Regions from separate parts of the Homo sapiens genome. Here region 2 is linked to region 1. Evidence: promoter capture Hi-C in human tissues and cell types (Jung and others, 2019). All regions are on one chromosome and are shown on one strand. The core of a region is centred on a gene start or on the middle of the fragment in contact, and the rest is flanking DNA. Distances in the headings are between cores, read along the strand shown. Region 1 holds the start of ISG15 (ISG15 ubiquitin like modifier). Region 2 holds the start of CALML6 (calmodulin like 6).

What was found. The method cuts DNA at HindIII sites, captures the fragments that hold promoters and counts their contacts. A contact is called where the count stands out against the background at its distance.
Region 2: the fragment with the promoter of CALML6 here is called in contact with the fragment with the promoter of ISG15 in region 1 in 1 of the 25 tissues and cell types used here (H1 embryonic stem cells).

The regions. Positions count from the first base shown.
Region 1 is chr1:1,010,874-1,016,834 of GRCh38, reverse strand. It overlaps ISG15 (ISG15 ubiquitin like modifier), which reads right to left and starts at 3,338. Exons shown (of 2, transcript NM_005101.4): 1 at 3,259-3,338; 2 at 2,295-2,851. The coding sequence starts at 3,261. The coding sequence ends at 2,357. RefSeq lists a silencer at 1,079-1,299 and enhancers at 2,226-2,285, 1,585-2,476, 2,446-2,855, 2,477-3,368, 3,256-3,675 and 1 more. The HindIII fragment of the contact is 22,753 bases long and covers 1-5,961 here.
Region 2 is chr1:1,912,242-1,918,202 of GRCh38, reverse strand. CALML6 (calmodulin like 6) reads right to left here and starts at 2,943. Exons shown (of 6, transcript NM_138705.4): 1 at 2,896-2,943; 2 at 2,468-2,518; 3 at 1,588-1,762; 4 at 1,307-1,451; 5 at 1,129-1,229; 6 at 907-1,056. The coding sequence starts at 2,922. The coding sequence ends at 1,010. It overlaps TMEM52 (transmembrane protein 52), which reads left to right. Exons shown (of 5, transcript NM_178545.4): 5 at 41-612. The coding sequence ends at 321. RefSeq lists an enhancer at 3,436-4,122. The HindIII fragment of the contact is 17,409 bases long and covers 1-5,961 here.

The DNA.
Region 1 (5,961 bases), core at 2,089-4,588:
ACCTGTAATCCCAGCCAGTCAGGAGGCTGAGGCAGGAGAATCGCTTGAACTCAGGAGGTGGAGCTTGCAGTGAGCCGAGATCACACCACTGCACTCCAGCCTGGGCGACAGAGCGAAACTCCATCTCAAAGAAACACAAAACAAAACAAATACAAAATTAGCCAGGTGTGGTGACACGCACCTGTAATCCCAGCTCCTCGGGAGGCTGAGGCGGGAGGATCACTTGAGTGTGGGAGGTGGAGGCTGCGGTGAGCGGTGATTGTGCCACTGCACTCCAGCCTAGCTGAGAGTATGACCCTGGGAAAAGTAAGTAATTTTTTTAAAAAAAGGACTGGGTCAGTCAGGCCCAGTGGTTCACACCTGTAATCCCAGCATTTTGGGAGCCCGAGGCAGGCGGACCACTTGAGGCCAGGAGTTCAAGACCAGCCTGGCCAACATGATGAAACCCCATCTCTACTAAAAATACAAAAATTAGGCCGGGTGCGGGGGCTCACACTTGTAACCCTAGCACTTTGGAAGGCTGAAGCGGGCGGATCATGAGGTCAGGAATTCGAGACTAGCCTGGCCAATACAGTGAAACGCTGTCTCTACTAAAAACACAAAAAAAAGTTAGCTGGGTGAGGTGGCGGGCACCATTAATCCCAACTACTTGGGAGGCTGAGGCAGGAGAATTGCTTGAACCCGGGAGGTGGAGGTTGCAGTGAACCGAGATGGCGCCACTGCACTCCAGCCTGAGCGACAGAGTGAGACTCTATCTCAAAAAAAAAAAAAAAAGCACGGGTGCGGTGGCTCACGCCTGTAATCCCAGCACTTTGGGAGGCCGAGATGGGCGGATCACGAGGTCAGGAGATCGAGACCATCCTGGCTAACACGGTGAAACCCCGCCTCTACTGAAAATACAAAAAAAAATTAGCCGGGCGTGGTGGCGGGCGCCTGTAGTCCCAGCTACTCGGGAGGCTGAGGCAGGAGAATGGCGTGAACCCGGGAGGTGGAGCTTGCAGTGAGCAGAGATCGCGCCACTGCACTCCAGCCTGGGCGACAAAGCGAGACTCCGTGTCAAAAAAAATAATAATAAAAAGGACTGGGCCTGTGGTGCCCCTCTCACCCCAGGCTAGCTACAGATCTCTGAGCCAGAAGCCACAAAGGAGGCCCTGCCCTGCCCTGCCCCCGTTGGGGGTTCAGGAAAGGCCCCTGGCTAAGTGCTTCACTCGCCCATTGTGACACAGGGGTGAGGTGGGGACCCGGACACAAGGCTGGAGCCAGGACACCCCCTGCTGGGCACATGCGGGCACACACAGTGGTCCTGGTGCAGCCAGATGGGGGTCTCCCCACCTGGATATGGACCCCCACAGACCAGGGGGGACTCTGTGTCTCCAGCCGGATCCTCCCGAGGGCTCTGAAAGCTGAGGCCCAAGTGCCCAGAGTCCGGACTCTGCATGTCCCTCTGTGCCCCGTCCTCGCTGCATCCCAGCCGACATCCGTGCCCCGTCCTCCCTGCTTCCCGGCCAACAGCTGGCTTCTAGGAGACTCATTTAGCAAATTGGAATAGGAGAGACAGAGAAGGGTGCATGGGTGGGGGAAGGGGTGTAGCTTGTAGCTTGTACTGAATTGGGGGCCCCCCACCTGGGACAAGCTCTGCTTCCTGGACGGTGTCAGCCCCAACTCCAGGTGCCCTCCACTGCTGGCCACGGCCCCTCCTTCACGCACAGCCTTGAGGGGGTGTACTTAGCCACCCAGGCTGTCTTCTGCAGCTGGCCCCAGTGGTGATGTGAGTGCTCAGGACCTGTCTCTACCCCTCCCTAGCCCAGCCCAGGCAGGTGGAGCAGGCTGTGTAGGCTGGGCTAGGGACGGCTGAGGTCCCCAGCCCCCAGTTCCTATGGAGAGCCTGCCTCACAGCCCACCGGGCAGGCCCCAAGGACTCACCCCTTACTGCTCCCAGGGGCCCACTGGGAGCCTCCCCTTTTGATCTGATCAGGCGGGTCCCTGCCTAAGCCGTCTGCTGTCCCAGATGGAGGACAGGCAGGATGGGCTCCAGCAACTGTGTCTCTTTTTCTTTTCCTAGAAGTTAATTTCCCAAAGGGTGGGGAGAGCTGTCTTACTTCAGTTTCGGGGTGGGGGGCTCCCTATTTTGATCCCTCGAAGCTGTAACTGCAAACCCTTATCCCTTCACTTGGCAGCCCAGGCCTGGTCACCAGGATGGACCCTGGGTTCTCCCTCCTGACTTCTCCCGCCCCATCACCAGGGGTCTGAGGCGGACGCTGGAGGAGGGGCAAGCACAGACACAGAGGCGGCCATTTCTCTTTACAACAGCCTTTATTTCCGGCCCTTGATCCTGCTCGGATGCTGGTGGAGGCCCTTAGCTCCGCCCGCCAGGCTCTGTGCCGCCTCCCCGCAGGCGCAGATTCATGAACACGGTGCTCAGGGGCTTGAGGCCGTACTCCCCCAGCGGGAGCTGGTCCTCCAGGGGCTTCCCCTCGAAGGTCAGCCAGAACAGGTCGTCCTGCACACCCTCCAGCCCGCTCACTTGCTGCTTCAGGTGGGCCACGGTCTGCGTCAGCCGTACCTCGTAGGTGCTGCTGCGGCCCTTGTTATTCCTCACCAGGATGCTCAGAGGTTCGTCGCATTTGTCCACCACCAGCAGGACCGTGCTGCCGGGGCCCAGGCCCTGGCTGGCAAGGGGGACCCTGTCCTGCAGCGCCACACCGCTCGGGTGGACAGCCAGACGCTGCTGGAAGGCGTGCACGCCGATCTTCTGGGTGATCTGCGCCTTCAGCTCTGACACCGACATGGAGCTGCTCAGGGACACCTGGAATTCGTTGCCCGCCAGCATCTTCACCGTCAGGTCCCAGCCCTGCAGGCGTCACACAGGTTCAGAGACTGCGGCGCCAGCCCCAGGCCCACCACACACAAGGCACTGGCTGCAGGGCGAGCTCCTGTACCCAGGGACAGTGCTCCCTCCTGTCTGTCCTCTACATCCCGCCGGCAGGGACCCCAGGCACAGAAGGCACTGAGGGCTCGTTACTAGAAGGCCAGCTGCCCACCGCCATCCCGTGGCCTCCCTTTACCTGCTAGGGTGCCCCTCTGTGCCCCACCCTGAGGATCTCAGGGGTGACCTGCTTTCAGGAGCACACTTAGAACCTGGCCAAGCTCTGAGCAGCTCCGCTCTCCCTGCACCCCTGGGAGACCTTGGCTGGGGGAGGGAGACGAAAATTGGCTGGCACAGAGCCCACCTCCCCCCACCTGTGACATCTGCCTTACCATGGCTGTGGGCTGTGGGCTGTGGGCCACGGCACAAGCTCCTGTACTGGCAAAGATGAGTTCGCTGCCTCTCAGCCGCCGGCTTCGGCAGGCAGCACCGGCCCTATTATAAGCCTGAGGCACACACGTCAGGGGGCGTGCCGCCGAGCCTGCGCTGGTGGCCAAATTTGGCTTCAGTTTCGGTTTCCCTTTCCCGAGGCATGCCCCAGAGTGAGCGGAAGAAACAAAACCGAATGACCGAAAGACAGGGAAAAGCAAAAGTGGCGGGGACTCCGGACAGCGGACGGCATCCCCACCCCCACCCAACACCCTGGAAACACCTAAATATCGCGCATTCCAGATCCTTCACAGGATGCACTAAAGCTGTCATCACATGGACTAATGGTTTCATTTTCCATTTACCAACTTGCAAAATTAGTAAACTTGGAAAACATCCCCATGGTTAATTGAGAAACAAGAACTCCAAACTACCCAGAGATAACAACACTCGGTTTAGGGCAGTATTTGCTCAGATTGGTGTTTTTTTGTTGTTGTTTTTGTGTTTTTGAGACAGGGTCTCTCACTCTGTCGCCCAGGCTGGAGTGCAGAGGCACGATCTCATCTCATTGCAACCTCCGCCTGCCAGGCTAAAGCGATCCTCTCACCTCAGCCTCCCACGTAGCTGGGACCACAGGGGTGCACCACCAGGCCCGGCTAATTTTTTGTATTTTTAGTAGAGATGGGGGTCTCGCCATGTCGCCCAGGCTGATCTCGAACTCCTGGGCTCAAGTGATCCACCTGCCTCGGCCTCTGAAACTGCTGGGATTACAGGCGTGAGCCACTGCACCCGGAGCCTCAGATTGTTTTTTAATAAAAGAGACCTATCTTTTATTTTCTACAAAAATGAACTCTGGGACACTATTGAGAAAGTGAAAAGACAATCCATAGAATGGGAAGAAATATTTGCAAATTATCTATCTGATGAGGGCATAGCATCCAGGACATATAGAGAACTCTTACAACTCAATAAAAAATAAAAATAAAAAAAAAAGGCAACTCAATTTTCAAATGGCCAAAAGACTTCAATAGACATTTCTCCAATGACATAGAAACGGCTGTAAAGTGATGTTCAACATCATTATTAATTGGGGAAATGCAAATCAAAACCCCAGTGAGATGCTATTTCCTGCTGGTATGACTGTAATAATAAAAATAAAGGCCAGGCCGGGTGCGGTGGCTCACGCCTGCAATCCCAACACTTTGGGAGGCTGAGGCGGGCGGATCACCTAAGGTCAGGAGTTTGAGACCAGCCTGGCCAACATTTTTAGTAGAAACCCCATCTCTACTAAAAATACAAAAATTAGCTGGGCGTGGTGGTGCACGCCTGTAATCCCAGCTACTTGGGAGGCTGAGGCGGGAGAATCCCTTGAACCCAGGAGGCAGAGATTGTGGTGAGCCAAGATTGCACCAATGCACTCCAGCCTGGGCAGCAGAGCAAGACAGTCTCAAAAAATAATATAAAATAAACATAAAGGCAGTAACAAGCACTGGGGAATACATAGAGGAACTGGAATCCTGGTACATGCATTGCTGTTGAGAATGTAAAACAGTGCGGCCGCCGCGATGCTCAAAACGTTCAACAGAATTATTGGGAACCCAGCAGTTCCACTTCTAGGCATGTGTCCAAAAGAATTGAAAATAGGTGTTCAAATACTTGCATACAAATGTCCATGGCAGCACAGTTTACAATAAACAAGTAGCAGGAACGGAGCACATGTCCATCAGTGATGGATGGACACACAAAGTGTGGAATGTCCACACAACGGAATATTATGCAGCCATGAAAAGGACTGAGGCACTGATTCATGTGAAAGAACCTTGAAAACGTTATGCTAAGTGGAAAGAGCCAGACACGAAGGCCGCAGAGTGTTGGTTCCATTCACCGCAGGGGAAACGACCGGAACTGGTAGAGCCGCAGCACAGGAAGCCGACCCCGTTACCGGGGGCCAGGGAGGGGGAGTGGGGGGTGATTGCTTCAGAGCCACAAGCCCCTTTGGGGGTGACAATGTTTCAGAACTCCACAGAGGTGATGGTTGGACAACGTGGTAAATAACTAAACGCCACTGGATTTCATTCTTTAAAATGGTTAGTTTTATGTTATATGAATTTCACATCAATAAAAAGCAAAGGTGAAAAGGCCTCACCATACTTTCACTGTTTTGTAACCTGCTTCATTCATGCAACAGTGTATCATAAACATCTATCCAGGCCAGGCGGCTCATGCCTGTAATGCCGGCATTTCGGGAGGCTGAGGCGGGAGGATCATTTGAGATCAGGAGTTCGAGACCAGCCTGACCTACATGGCGAAACCCCATCTCTACTAAAAATACAACAACAACAAAAAAGGCCAGGTACAGGGGCTCACGCCTGTAATCCCAGCACTTTGGGAGGCCGAGGCAGGCAGATCACCTGAGGTCAGGAGTTCAAGACCAGCCTGGCCAATATGGTGAAACTCCGTCCCTACTAAAAATGCGAAAAATTAGCTGGGCATGGGCCGGGCGCAGTGGCTCACCTGTAATCCCAGCACTTTGAGAGACCGAGGCGGGTAGATCACCTGAGGTCAGCAGTTTGAGACCAGCCTGGCCAACATGGTGAAACCCCATCTCTACTAAAAATACAAAAATTAGCTGGGCGTGGTGGTGGGCACCTGTAATCCCAGATACT
Region 2 (5,961 bases), core at 1,694-4,193, 900 kb before region 1:
GCCAAGCCCGCCTCCACGAACCCACTCTGGTTCCCTGCAGCCTACAGCTCCGTGCAGTACCCACTGGGCATGCGGTTGCCCCTGCCCTTTGGGGAGCTGGACCTGGACTCCATGGCTCCTCCTGCCTACAGCCTGTACACCCCGGAGCCTCCACCCTCCTACGATGAAGCTGTCAAGATGGCCAAGCCCAGAGAGGAAGGACCAGCACTCTCCCAGAAACCCAGCCCTCTCCTTGGGGCCTCGGGCCTAGAGACCACTCCAGTGCCCCAGGAGTCGGGCCCCAATACTCAACTACCACCTTGTAGCCCTGGTGCCCCTTGAAGGAGGTAGGAGAACGGACCAGAGCTTGGAGAACTAATGCTTGGAGCCAAGGGCCCCAGCCCACCCCACCGTCCCACACATTGCTGTGGCCCCAACCTCGGTGCCATGTTACACCGGCCCCTGGCGTCACCCACTAGGCAGGCTGCTGCTTTCAGCCTCAGCCCCTGGCCCAGCCCCAGCAGGCCCTCAGCCTGGAAGAGGCCCCTTGGGCCTAAGCCTCGGGTGGGAGCTCAGGGCCACCTGTGACGTCTGCATCTTCTTGGAGAGAGAATAAAGTTTGTATTTAAGTGGTCTCTGCCTATGTGGGAAGGACTCTGGGACTCCAGGGCTCTGGGAGGAACCCTTGGGCAGCCAACCCCCAGTGCAAGCAGGAAGGGCGAGCGTGTGGTCCCCGGCCTGTACCCAGTCCAGGTTTCAGGCTGGCATTCCTAGCCCTGAGCTGGGCAATGGGTGGTGTCAGGTGTCGTGGCAGAAATGACTGGGGCTGTTTCTGTGACTGGGCCAGGAAAACTCTTTTCCTTCTCCAGCCCCACGCCTTTGCCTGTTGCCCCCCAACCCAGGCTGGGACAGTGAGGCACACACAGGTTGGGCTGGAACATTTATTTTACACGGAGCCGGGGGAGTGGGGGCCAGGGGGCAGGGGCAGCAGCCTTCCCGGGCAGGCCTCCCCCGGCTGCGGCAGCTGCACCTACTGGATCAGCTTGAAGGACTCCCCCGTCATCATGGCCACAAACTCTGGGAACAGAGGGGCAGGTCAGCAGCTTGCCCCGGCCCAGCCAACGGCTCCCAGGGCTCCAGGCCACTCACCCTCATAGTCGATGGTCCTGTCCCCATCCTTGTCGGCCTCCTTCATCATCTGCTCCGCCTCCACCTCGTTGAGGGGCTCCCCTGCGTTCATTAGCACGTACCTACGGGGCCTGGCGCTGAGCCACTCCATCGGCCCTGCCCGTGCCCGCCCACCACCCGCCCCCAACCCGGGCCCTACTTGAGTGTGTTCCAGTCAATGTAGCCCTTGCCCTCTTTGTCAAAGACACGGAATGCCGCCCTCAGCTCGCTCTCCTGGTTCTGGGCCTTCTCATGGTAAACTCCCATTAGTGCCAGGAAACCATCGCAGTTGAAGAACCCTTTGTCTGCAAGGGGCACAGCTGGGGCTCAAGGGATGGGGCACAGCACTCCCCATGGGCTTTGCCTCTTCCCCCCGTAGGCACTGACACCTGACCCAGGGCCCCCCCGAGGCTGCCCACCCCACTCCAGCCATGAGCTCACTGTCTCTGTCCACATCCTTGGCCATTGAGGCCAGCTCACTCTTGGTGGGGTTGATACCCAGCAGGCTCATGAGCCACTCCAGCTCCCCCGTCTTCACCTCCCCGTTGCCCTCTTCGTCGAACATCTCAAAGACTCCCTTGTACTCCTTGATCTGCTCAGCCGACAGGCGCTCTGTCTGCAGGGGACACCCGCACCGGCCTGACCAGGAGCCCCTTCTGCCCCTGTGTCCAGGGAAGGGTCAGAGGTACCCCCTGCACCCATTCCTCCATTGGCAGCCTTTCAAGGTGAGTGGTAAGAGAGGAGGCCCCCAGCGGAGAGCAGGCTTCCAGGACAAGGGGTCACACGCCAGGGGTTTGCAGGGCCAGCAGGGCTCTGCCAGGCAGCTAACAGGGGCAAGGGCCAGACAGGCAGGAGCCAGCGTGCGAGGGAACAGCAGCAGCTGCAGGGCCAGGCGGGCCAGGCAGCGGCCCTGGAGCCTGGCAATGGACACCAGGTGAGGCAGGTGAAGGAAGCCGAGAGCAGGGTGGGGAGGAGCCCAGCCCTGGCCCGGGAAAGGCTTCCAGCCCAGGATTGGGATACAGCCCAGGAAGCAGAACCCTGGGCTCCAGCCTGTGTGGCATTCCGGAGGGAGAGTCCAGCACCGGGCCACACCTGCCTGCCACCACTGCTGCTGCCCATCTGGGAGCCAGCTTTCAGAAAGGGCTGCTCCACCCTGGCCCCGGAACAAGGGCTGTGTTGGTGGCAGCAGGGCTTGGCCCCCTCTTCTACCTCAGCCCCTTCCTGCCCAGGCTCCGTGGCAGGTCATTGCACCTCCAGGTTCCAGCTCAACCTACCCAGCCAGCCCACCAGAGACTCCATCGGGCACAGAGAGCAGCCTTACCATGTCGGTGGTTGTCTGACAGGATTCTGCAGGGTGGTGACACCAGGGCTGCTGTGGGCAGAGTGCTGGGGCAGTGGTGGCAGCTGAGTTTTAGCTGGGCCTGGCTGCCTGGGGTCCCCGGGGTCCAGATTCCAAGAGCCTTTTATGGGTGGGAAATCCTGCCGGCCCTATTTTGGGACAGGCTCTCGGCCTTATCCACAGGGCCCCTTCCCGGCCCGCTTTGGCCTGGGCTTCCCCTGACCCTGAAGATGGGCACCGAAGGCTAAGTGCGGGGGCCAGGAAAGGGCTGAGACATGGCGGGACCCTCACACACGCTGTTCCCCGTGCTGTTCCCTCTTCACTGGACCAAGCTCCAAGTCTACCTTCCCAGAGGTGCGGCCCTCCAGCAGGTCTTCATGGGACCCTGGTCCCATGCTGTCATCACTTACCAGTGAGATTTCTTGTTGAAGACCCATCCTGGCCAGCTGGTGCTCAGTGGCTCAGAGCCTGGCCACCCTCCCATCCTGGTGGACTCAACATTGGCCCCGTGCCAGCATGTCACAAACTCTCAGGACAGGTCGAATGAACAAATGCATGAGGCACCGCTTGACCATCTTGTACAGGAGGGGCTGAGGGTCCACCATTCAGGGAGGAGACAGCAGGACATGGGCTGGGGGTGAAGGGGGAAAGGGAGCAAAACAGGGCCTGGGGGCTGGGCTGCCCGCTGGAAGCCAGGCACAGTTGGGGGCTATTTTGGGGTTTCTCAGGGAAACCTGATCTCCCTTCCACTCAGAACAGCAAAGCTGGCTCCCGAGGGGGCCTGGTGCCCAGGCTGGTCCGTATCAACATGCCACCGTGGAGCACACGCCTGCACACGTGTGTTCCCTCCTCAGACCCGCACTGAGCCCTCCCTGTCTGGGTCTAATTACCCACCAGACTCCCAAAGCCAGGGTCCAGCTCCTCCCTGCCCCACCCAGGCAAGAGTGTGAGGATTGCAGTGGCAGGTCAGGGCCCTCAGGGTCACACTCACACCTGCCCCCCGACTGGCCCCTTGATGGCATGAAGAGTCTGAGCAGGTGGGGCACTCAGTGTCCCCCGCCAGCCCAACCCTCTGCCTGCCAGCAAACCTGCAGCTACAGGATGGCTCCCGCTGAAACCCAGGCCAGCTGCTGAGACTGCAAGATTGACGCTGACGAGGGCAGGCCAATGGCCCAGGGCACCTCCAGCCAAACGGGAGCCGGGGCTGGAGGGAAGCGGCCCTGGGTCTGGTGGGGCCAAGGGAGGCCCTGACCTTCATCCTGGCTGCTCCCTGGCCTCAGCTTTCCCCTGGGCTGGGGCAGGGAACAATTCACGCACTGAGCACCTTCCCCCAGGGGCATAGAATGGAGGGAGCCGCAGCACCCAGGCCAGGGCCCATCCTGGGTTCTGGCTCAGGGTCTCCAGGTACAGGCCAGCTGGGTACAGAGACACAGAGAACTGCACTGGCCTCGTGGCCCTGGACAAGTCCCCACCCCAACAACTCTCACAGCCAGTGGACAGCAGGCTCTGCCTCCTCCGTTCCCAGGCTTCCAGCGTCTGACATTCCTGGGCCACAGCCCTGAAGGTTCCAGACATCCTGATGGGCTTACGAGTGAAACTCAAAGCTGTGACCCCTGGAGCCCAACTTAAAGCAGAGGGCACACCCCCCGCCCCGCCCGTAGGAAGGGGCAACATGGCCACAACCACCATCAACCTCTCTCCTCTCCATCTAGGCTTCTACCCATATCCAAGACCCAGTACAAGCAGCAGAACAGGTCCTCGCCCTCTAACCCTCTCTCCTCATGCTGACCAGCCTCTGTGTGGCCTTCGGACATACCCCGTATCTCTAGGACCTGAGACTCATCCAATCTTTATTTTCCTTCTTGTGTCTCTTCTGATCACCGAAGGGCTATTCTCCATAAGAAAACAGAAAAAGAGGCTGGGCACGGTGGCTCACGCCTGTAATCCCAGCACTTTGGGAGGCTGAGGCGGGCAGATCACGAGGTCAGGAGATCGAGACCATCCTGGCTAACACAGTGAAACCCCGACTGTACTAAAAAAAATACAAAAAAATTAGCCAGGCGTGGTGGTAGACACCTGTAGTCCCAGCTTCTCCGGAGGCTGAGGCAGGAGAATGGCGTGAACCCAGGAGGCAGACCTTGCAGTGAGGCGAGATCGCGCCACTGCACTCCAGCCTGGGCAACAGAGCGAGACTCCATCTCAAAAAAAAAAAAGAAAAGAAAAGAAAACAGAAAAAGAGAAAAACCCTGTAACAATTAGAATGCTGCCTCAGCCACGTTCAGGTGCAAGTGCAGTTGTGTTCATGGCCGTACCCAGTTATGCAGCAGATCTCTAGAACCTTTCACCTTGCAAAACGGACCCCCGCCCCCATTAAACAGCATCTGCCCTCTTCCACCACCCCCCGCCCCCCAGCCTATGGCAATCACTATTCTACTTTCTGTTTTTAAGAATTCGACTCCGGGGGCCGGGTGTGGTGGCTCACGCCTGTAATCCCAGCACTTTGGGAGGCCGAGGTGGGTGGATCACAAGGTCAGGAGTTCAAGACCAGCCTGGCCAAGATGGTTACACCCTGTTTCTACTAAAAAAAATAAAAAAATAAAAAAATTAGCCGGGCGTGGTGGCAGGTGCCTGTAATCCCAGCTACTCAGGAGGCTGAGGCAGAGAATTGCTTGAACCTGGGAGGTGGAGGATGCAGTGAGCCGAGATTGCGCCACTGCACCCCAGCCCGGGTGACAGAGTGAGACTCCATCTCCAAAAAAAAAAAAAAGAATTCGACTTTTTTTTTTTTTTTTTTTTTGAGGCAGAGTCCCGCTCTATCTCCAGGCTGGAGTGCAGTGGCGCGATCTCAGCTCACTGCAACCTCTGCCTCCCAGGTCAAGCAATTCTCTTGCCTCAGCCTCCCGAGTAGCTGGGACTACAGGCACCCACCACCAAGTCCGGCTAATTTTTTATACTTTTACTAGAGACGGGGTTTCACCGTGTTAGCCAGGATCGTCTCGATCTCCTTACCTTGTGATCCGCCCACCTGGGCCTCACAAAGTGCTGAGATTACAGGCATGAGCCACCGCACTCGGCCTGGAATAGGCGTCTTTTTTAAGGCTGAGTAAAATGTTATTCTCGGGATGGACCACACTCGGTTTATCCACCATCTGCTGATGAACACTTAGGTGCTCCCACCTCTTGGCTGTTGGAACTGCTGCTGCAATGAATATGGGCGGGCATGAAGGTGTTTCATAGATGTGATTAGTATTTAAATCAGTAGGCCGGGCATGGTGGCTCATGCCTGTAATCCCAGCACTTTGGGGGACCGAGGCAGGGAGATCACAAGGTCAGGAGATCGAGACCATCCTGGCTAACATGGTGAAATGCCGTCTCTACTAAAAATAAAAATAAAAAAATTAGCTGGGCATGGTGGTGCGCGCCTGTAGTCCCAGCTACTTGGGAGACTGAGGCAGGAGAATGGCGTGAACCCCAAG